Linked DNA regions of Homo sapiens: region 2 is linked to region 1. The links are contacts of gene promoters, found by promoter capture Hi-C in human tissues and cell types (Jung and others, 2019). All regions are on one chromosome and are shown on one strand. The core of a region is centred on a gene start or on the middle of the fragment in contact, and the rest is flanking DNA. Distances in the headings are between cores, read along the strand shown. Region 1 holds the start of TSPAN13 (tetraspanin 13). Region 2 overlaps CRPPA (CDP-L-ribitol pyrophosphorylase A).

What was found. Contacts are between HindIII fragments. The study calls those that stand out against the background at their distance.
Region 2: a fragment that was not itself captured here is called in contact with the fragment with the promoter of TSPAN13 in region 1 in 1 of the 25 tissues and cell types used here (mesendoderm cells).

The regions. Positions count from the first base shown.
Region 1 is chr7:16,751,820-16,756,405 of GRCh38, forward strand. It overlaps TSPAN13 (tetraspanin 13), which reads left to right and starts at 1,936. Exons shown (of 6, transcript NM_014399.4): 1 at 1,936-2,211. The coding sequence starts at 2,149. RefSeq lists a silencer at 4,525-4,586. The HindIII fragment of the contact is 15,712 bases long and covers 1-4,178 here.
Region 2 is chr7:16,272,995-16,277,580 of GRCh38, forward strand. The region is part of intron 6 of CRPPA (CDP-L-ribitol pyrophosphorylase A); the gene reads right to left. Among named protein-coding and RNA genes, the nearest start is that of CRPPA-AS1, 65 kb to the left of the region's middle. The HindIII fragment of the contact is 3,442 bases long and covers 1,389-4,586 here.

The DNA of each region.
Region 1 (4,586 bases), core at 686-3,185:
CTGGGATTACAGGTGTGAGCCACCGCACCCAGCCGGTTTCCTTTAACTTTGTCCACACTTTTGAAAATAGTCCCTTTTTGAAATTCTTCTCAGTTATGCTATTTGAACGAGTCATCTCCTTTTTGCTGGGACCCTGACTGATAGGTGGTACTTCTCTGGGAAAACAAAGTGATTCAGCCTATAGGGAGATAGTGAAGATATTATGCAGAAGCCAAAGAGAGAGTTGCAATAGTTGGTTGAGTGATAGTTGAAGTGGTACTAATGTTGGTGACACCCAGGAATGGGAAGAGAATGAATAGATTTCCCTGCCAATGCCTCATCTTTTGTAAACCTCTGGCTATTAAAAAGGAAAGTTGAGCATCATCAAAGCATTGTTTGTGTTTGAGGATCATTTTCCAGGTTAGTTTTTGAAATATTTCTAGCTGTATATAAAAGGTTAATGTGGAATAGAAAGCCTAACAAATTAATGAGGTCTTGTTGGTATGGTGGGGTCAGGGGAGGGAAGGAGAGGCTGGAAGAGGGAGCAGAGAATTCTAAGAAGACGAATTATTTTAATCAGCTGCAATGTTTAATTTAATTTAATACAATTTAGCATTTGCAATTACATAATTTACTCCGTATGAACCTTTAGGTTAGATATAGTATTGTAAACTTGCAAATCTCTTTATAAAACCTTTTTCTTTGGTAGAAACTACTATGAAGTAAATAAACCTTTATTGCCTTCGCTTAGTGCCTGGAACACAGTAGGCCTTTACAAAATGTCAGATCTATGAATACTAGCTGACATTTATTGAGGCCTTCCCCTGTGCCAGCCACTATGCAAAAAGTGCTTGACATACTTCTAAAATCTCAATTTATAGGTGAGGAATTAAGGATACAAGATGCATTTCTATAGTAGAGAAGCAGTAAACTGATAATGAATTAATTGAGGTGAAGTCTGAGTTATTTGAAGATTTTCAGTTATTTTTGTGAAAAAATAAGTTTATTGAAATTCACGACCAGAACACAAAAATAATCTCTCTTGATTTTCTTTTTAAAATTTTTTAAAAAACTTTTGTTGACACGTAGCAGATGTATATATTTACGGGGTACATGAGATGTTTTGATACAGGCATGCAATGTGAAATAAGCACATCACGGAGAATAGGGTATCCATCCTCTGAAACATTTATCCTTTGAGTTACAAACAATCCAATTACATTCTTTAAGTTATTTTAAAATACACAATTAAGTTCTTATTAACGATTGTCACTTTATTGTGCTATCAAATAGTAGGTCTTATTCATTCTTTCTATTTTTTTGGACCTATTAACCATCCCCACCTTCTCCCGCTCTTGATTTTCCTTTGCATGCATGTATTCATAAAGTTTATTAGTATTTTGCAAATCTTTGTAGGATAAGTCTGACCTGTCCAGGTCACAATTATAGGGCACATATCTTATTTTCTGAGAGAAGCAGGGATTTTATTTTATTTTTTATTGTTTCACTTATTTTCTCCCTTTCATTTGCCTCTACTTCGTTCTCTTTTAAATCTTTCACATGTTTTCATTCATTACTTGCTTCCTGCCTTCCTTCCCTCAAACAAGGCCAGGTGCTTAGTTTTGAAATCTCATTCAAAATGGTGCCACGTCATCTGCCAGGGCCAAGAATCCAGAGGTGCTGTCATATTTCTCCTTGCCAGCGTGGATCTCCTCCGAGCCCCGCCCTCCCTCCTCACCTGCTCCTGGGGAAACTACACCAAGGCCGCCGCTCTGGCCTGGGGCTCCCTCCCACACGGCCTTGGCCCTCTCCCCCTCGCCCCGGGACCGCTCCGCCCCTCCCGGATCCCGGTCGGCGGAGCGCATTTATTTGCATATTTCTACCTTTGTTCCCTGCCAGCGGCCAATCAGCGCGCGGGGCGAGACGAAGGGGCTGGGCGGGGCTCGGGCTCCTGCTCCGGCTCAGCTGCGGCGGCCGCAGGTTCCAAAGCGGGTCCGAGCCGCCGCCGCGCGCGCGCCGCGCACTGCAGCCCCAGGCCCCGGCCCCCCACCCACGTCTGCGTTGCTGCCCCGCCTGGGCCAGGCCCCAAAGGCAAGGACAAAGCAGCTGTCAGGGAACCTCCGCCGGAGTCGAATTTACGTGCAGCTGCCGGCAACCACAGGTTCCAAGATGGTTTGCGGGGGCTTCGCGTGTTCCAAGAACTGCCTGTGCGCCCTCAACCTGCTTTACACCGTGAGTATCCCCAGTCCGTTCCTGCTCGCTTGGGGGCTTTGCACCTGCTTGGGAGCTCTTTGGCTTCCCTGCCTGGTCAGCGACTCACTCGTTGCATCCCGCGCCCCCTTCCCGGCTTCCCACGTCTGCGCGCCCCCGGCCTCACCATCCGTCCCCGCCGGGGACCGGGCGCCGGCGCTTGTCGCAGTCTCTTCCTTTCGTTCATTGTGAAGCCGCGGTCTCTCAGGCTCGCTGGCCGCGTCTCTGCCACATTGCTCCACCCCGCCCCCTCACCCACCGCCTTGTTTTTCAAACATTCAACCGGACCTCTCCGCTTTCCCACCCCGTACCCTTCTGCCGCTCGCTCCTGACATCCAGACGCATCTGGGCCAGGCGTGGAGGCGCGAGAGCCGTCAGGGCTTGCGGACAGTTTTGCGGAATGGCGTGGCCTGAAACTGACGAGGCGGCATATGGCTGGTGTGCCTCTGGGTTAGCTCTTGGTACCCTCGGGATTTTAATTGAGGCCACTGAGTAGGTTCACAGGATGTCCGCTGCTTCCGAAGTTTGTTTCGTGCTCACAGTAAAGGGATGTCTTTTTGTTTTTGTTGTTGTCAGTTTTGCTAGTACTTGGTGCTTTTTCTGTGTGTCTTGTCCATGATCAATATCCTAACTCCATTTTAAACCAAGTCCTCCAGGAAATAAGCGAGCCCCCACCCAAGTCGTTTCTTTCCCTGCCAACCAGCTTGGGCCTCTTAGTTTTAACGCTGCAGGCTCTCTTTGTGATTTTTTGAGGCGCAATTCTGGGTGAACAGGAGGATGGGCAGGACAGATCGACATTTATTGAATGCCTATCACGTCCCAGGTTTTACATACACAATGCTCGTTCATCATTCTGACAACCTTCTGAGGGAATGGGGCATTATCTGCATTTTATACATAAGGTAACAGACCAAAAAGGTTTTAGTAAGTTTACATAGCTGGTAGTTGACGAGTCAGGAGTGGAACCTAGGCTGTGGAATCCAGATCTTTCCACAGGCTGTCTCTACCGGGCGGAAGAAACTTCCTCTTCTGTCATCATCCCTCCATAGTAGTCTTGCTCCCTTCTATAAATATACCTGGCGCTTTGCAGCACCCACCCTGAAAACAAACCCAGCACCCCTGCATTAGCAGAGAGCTAGGCCATCTGTGCAAGCTTAGATTACCTCCTTGGAATAGAGAGGCTGCCTTGTGGTCACCAACAGGAGAAGGAGGTTGGGTCATTTTACCTTTACTGTTCCTTTGTATGTGAACATGACTGCAAGCTTTGAAGGCAAGACAGAAACAGGCATTGAGTACGCTTTTATGGCTAGTTAGTAAGAATCTGGTCAACATGGTCATTAATAGTAGACTTGGGAAAAAAATTTTAGAACACCTGGTGATACAGTTCCTTGGAGATACATGTCAAGTTTCAGATCAAAATTCATCTGTATCACCCTGAGGTATGCTTATCACCCTGGCTGTTTATTAAGTAAATGCTGACCAGTTCTCTAGGGTTTTTTTTTTTTTTTTTAAATCAGTGTGAGTGGCCTGCTTGGAACTTTAAATTCCTTATTTTGTGACCTGAGTTCTGTTTTTTTTCTGCCAATGATTTAGTCATCTGTTTGCCAGACACTTAGTCTTACAGTGCCTGCTTACACAGAGTGGAATGTCTACTTTGCATACTTACTTCACTGAAGGGTCTATATCAATGTATAATCTTTTTTAAAAAGGCAAGTTATTTTAAAATGAAGTTCCTTGCTTTCTAGACATCATTTTTAGTTGTATTTAGAGTATATCAGGAAAGTGAGGCGAAAGAAAGGTGATTCTAAAGGGACATATTAAGACTATTTAATATCTATTCTAAATTATTGACCTTCAAAGTGTGTGTTCTATTGATTTTAATAGCTATGCAGTAAAACTTAATGAATTGGAAATTCACGGGACAATAAAAATGGCTAGCCCTTTTAAATCATAGACTTTTTAGACAAAGGGACATTTCTTAAAATGAATTAGTGGCTGCTTGCTTCTTTTACATTGTAAATAGGCTTAAATAACTGCAGCAGTTTAAAGTGGAGGCAAGTGACAGGTAAAAGTTGGATCAAGTCTTAGATAGATGCTGAAAATGTGCCATGGCCATTATTTAGCTTCTATTTCTCCCCTGATCTCTTTCTCAACATTTTAAGATGAAAAAAATGTGAGGCAGTTGGGGATGGGATTGAGCATGAAGACTTGGGAGACATTTCTCTATAAGTCATGAATAGAAACATTCTTTGTAGGTTCTAATCCCACCCTGGTCACTGCCTCTAAAATGTGCTCAACGCTACAGGATTACATTTGAGGTCATTTCTAAAAGTGTTGGTTAAACCAGGATTGCATAT
Region 2 (4,586 bases), core at 1,860-4,359, 480 kb before region 1:
AGGGTACATGTGCACAATGTGCAGGTTAGTTACATATGTATACATGTGCCATGCTGGGGTGCTGCACCCATTAACTCGTCATTTAGCATTAGGTATATCTCCTAATGCTATCCCTCCCCCCTCCCCCCATCAAAGGGTTATTTTAAAGAGAAAAGAACTGCATAGTACTGATACAAACAGGAGACACGGAAATCCCGGGTAGAAGAGGACAGTCCCTGGTGAGGGCCACACCCTTAGGCCTGGGTACTGTGGCCCAAAGTGAGAACATGCATTCCTGTTTTCCCACTCAAATGCTGCTTTTTGGCTCTCCCTGCCTCCCATCTTGTACCCATAAAAAACCCCAAGCTCCACTAGCAGAGTGATGGCAGAGGGGCAGCAGAGTGGAACAGCAGGGGCCAGAAGAGAAGCAGCAGCTGTCAAAGAGAAGCAGTTTGACTTCAGAGGGACAGCTTGAAGGTGGGACTTCAGAAGGACGGCTTGACGGTAGGACCACAGAGAAGAGGTCAGCAGGGGATAGCCAAACTCCAGGGGAAGACCACCTTTCCACTCCATCCCCTTTCCAGCACCGCATCCCACTGAAAGCCACTTCCACTCGTCAGTAAATCCTCCACATTCACCACCCTTCAATTAACTGATGCAGCCTGATTCCTCCCGGACACCGAACAAGAACTCTGGTACCAAGAGGGCTGGTGCAAAAGGTTGTCATCCTACCCTCCACTGAGCTGTTAAACACTTAAGCTGTTTGTAGACAGCAAAGGTAAAAGAGCACAATGTAACACACGTCCTCTGGGGCTTCAGGGGTCATGGATACCCTGCTAGATGTAGCCATGGAGCTGCATGAAGTTCTATTCCTGCCATCGCGCCCAGAAGGACTTGTCCTGGCCTCTGTACCTGCTCACCTGCATGCTCCCTGTCCCATGAGAGGTGGAGAGCTGTGGGCTGATTAAATGAGCCAACCCCTTAGCCAGTCCTGCGAAGGGGCCAGGGGAACTGCCCATTTCAGTACTACTCCTGACACTCCATAATCAGTGTTGTGGCTGTTTTTGTTTTTGTTTTTGTTTTGTTTTGTTTTTGAGACGGAGTCTCGCTCTGTCGCCCAGGCTGGAGTGCAGCGGCGCGATCTCGGCTCACTGCAACCTCTGCCTCCCGGGTTCACGACATTCTCCTGCCTCAGCCTCCCGAGTAGCTGGGACTACAGATGCCCACCACCACGCCCAGCTAATTTTTTGTATTTTTAGTAGAGACAGGTTTCACCGTGTTAGCCAGGATGGTCTCGATCTCCTGACTTCGTGATCCGCCCACCTCGGATCCCAAATTGCTGGGATTACGGACGTGAGCCACCACACCCGGCCTGTTGTGGCTGTTTCTAAGAGAAAGCATTCTCTTAAGTTTGTGTGGCATAACAGGTTTTTAAACTTTTAATTCTTTTTAACCAAATTTAGAAGTCAGGGAAGGCTTAGCAGGAACGATATCTCCTTTCAAGGTGAACCAAGATTCTCTGAGTAAAATAACAGGACACCCAAAGTTCAGTTTTAGAAGTTCTACATTAGCTCCTCATTAAAAAAAAATAAAAAGTCTAATTTATCTCCAAAAAGGAAGATATTAAATTAAGAAATTTTTGAGGAATGGTGATTTTCTTACTTTTGAATATATGAATACTTCTTAGTTTTATTATATGAAGGAAATCCCTAACTTCAAGCCAAACCTAATTTTTTAAAAATTCCAAATTTGCTATGTCTGTCTATATTTATAGACGAATTAGATACTTGAAATTAAAAGAGAAATTTAAGTGATCTTTAAAAATTATAAATGGCCAGGAGAGCACACGAACAATAAAGGGGAGAAAGATTCTGGAAACCTAGAAATATGATTTTAGTCTTTGAATCTCTGCAGACCCTTCATAAAAACAGAAAAAGCAAGGAGGATATCAAAGCCAAAAACCTATAGACATTATCTACTATAAAACCAATATTTGGGAGGCTGAGGCACGAGAATCATTTGAACCTGGGAGGCGTAGGTTGTGGTGAGCTGAGACCATGCCACTGCACTCCAGCCTGGGCAACTGAGTGAGACAGTGTCTAAAAAAAAATAATATTAGTGGGTAGGGATAAATTGGCAGCACATATAAAGACACACACAGTTTAAGAAACTGTAGAAAAAAATGGGAGTAAACCAAGAAAGACAGAAAACAACAAAATCATCATCAGATACTTTCTGGATACCTTAGCAGGCCATTCCATTCTGGGAATAGCAACAGAAACTAGGAGAAGCCTTTGTAGGCTTTAATTCAAAGTTGAAAACAAGGAAGCCACATGAACGTTCTCTGCTAGGGATAACTGGGGGTCTGGGTCCAAAGCACATTCAAAACCAATAAACAGAAGCACCGTAGTATGTTAAAGCACCAGCCTGAGAAGTCTAGATGGACCAAGGGAGGTGCACTAGGAATAAAGGAAAGAGAAAGTACAGGCAAAGGACGGCCACGGAGGTGTTATTTTGACTCATCCCTTCCTCCTAAAACTAGATAAAACTCTTCTACTTAAAAAGGAACAATAGGGCTAGGTGCAATGGTCATGCCTGTATTTCCGCCCTTTGGGAGGCCAACGTGAGAGGATCACTTGAGGCCAGGAGTTTGAGACCAGCCTGGGCAACATGTGGAGACTCCTGTCTCTACAAAAAGGAAAAAAAAAATTAGCTGGGCATTGCAGTGTGTGCCTGTGGTCCCAGCTACTCAGGAAGATGAGATGGGAGGATCGCTTGAGCCCAGCAGGCCAAGGCCAAGGCTGCAATGAGCCATGATAGTACCAAGACCCTGTCTCGGAAAAAAACAAAAACAAAAACAAACAAAAAATATATATATATGAATGACAGAAAGAAAGAAAAAAAAAGACTAAACAGCAAAATAATGTACCTACAGAAACCCATGCACATCAGAAAGACCCAGTCATAAAATAAATGAAGACTGTAACCCAATATTTAATAAGCTAAAAGAAATTAAGAAAATGACAGAACTATAAAAGTCAGACTTGGAATAACTTAGAAACAAGGCGAGAAAATTTAAAAAATATTTCAGAAATGAAGACTAAATTAGAAAAAACACAAAAGGTAATGACTGAACAGAAATAAAAGACGGGAAGTAAGAAAATTAAAAAGAAATTAAGAGATTAGAAAAACTCAGGAGAATGTAATAGCTGTGGATGGCCAAAGAACATGTAAGCTTCATCCAACAGGAATCTCTGAAGAAAACTGAAGTAACCAAACAGAAAAAAACTAAAGAAATAATGTCAAATAAAAAGATTCGAAACTACACAGAAGCATCCACTATGTACCTAGCAATATCAGCCAAAATGACTATAATTAAGAAAACTGTAGTAAAACAAATGGACTTTAAAGGAAAAGAATTATTTGAGCATCCAGGCAAATAGACTAAATCACTTATAAGACAAAGAAAGTCAGATTTTCATCACACTTGACCAAAACACTTTATGACAAAAGAAAATAGACTGGCATATTGAAGATACTCAACAAAAAATTACTGAATTAAGATTGCTTTTAATCTAGCCAAAACCACCTTGAAGATTTTGAGCAAAAGAATAATTTTATTCACATCGAAGAACTTGGGAATACTGTGCCCATGAGCCCTCACTAGAGCATCTATTGGAGGATTAGTTCCAGAAAACCAAAATGATTTTTAAGGTATCAACATAAGGATTGTAGTGGCTATCACATATATATTTACTTATATGACTAAGAATAAACAATTGTTTAAGGGAGATAGTAGGTAATGACATGAATGTAAGAATATATACAGTAAGAAAGTTCACTGTCATCTTTCAGCTATAAACTTTAAATTAAAGCATACTAATTCAAATTAGATTCTTTAGAAAGGAGGAGGTAGAAGACACTGGTTAATTTGTTAATTTTAACAACTCATGTATCCAGTACAGCACTGAAGTATGGGAACTAACAGTCTGTACTATCTAATACTGTCACACCACTCTGCCAACTTATCACTGAAAGTTTAATTATAGTTCAAATGCATTGAAAACGTACTGCATGCCAGATGCTTCTCTAAGCACTTTAAATATATTCATTTTATTCAACTCACCCAGCAACTTTAGAACATAGATGTTATTAACAGTTTCAATTTACAGATAAGGAAATTAGGAAACAGAGCTAACATCCAAAGTGCAAGCAGTCTGATAACAGAGCCTGTTCTCTTTCCAACTGTGCTATCATGATAAAATTACACAGCTAATGGGCATGGTGGAGGCTGAGGCAGGAGAATCACTTGAACCCAGAAGGTGGAGGTTGCAGTGAGCTGAGATCACACCACTATACTCCAGCTTGGCAACAGAGTGAGACTCCATCTCAAAAAAAAAAAAAAAAAAAAAAAATTACACAGCTAAAATCAACTTTTACCCTCTACTTTTGATGAGAATTATGTACGTTGTCAAAAGGTCATCACATATTGAACATAAACTTGGATTAGAAGTTATATATTTTAATGAAAACAGAAATTAATTAAAATGTACAAAAATAAGTGTGGCAAAGAAAATACTTGAAAGTTGTCATAAAAATGATTAATG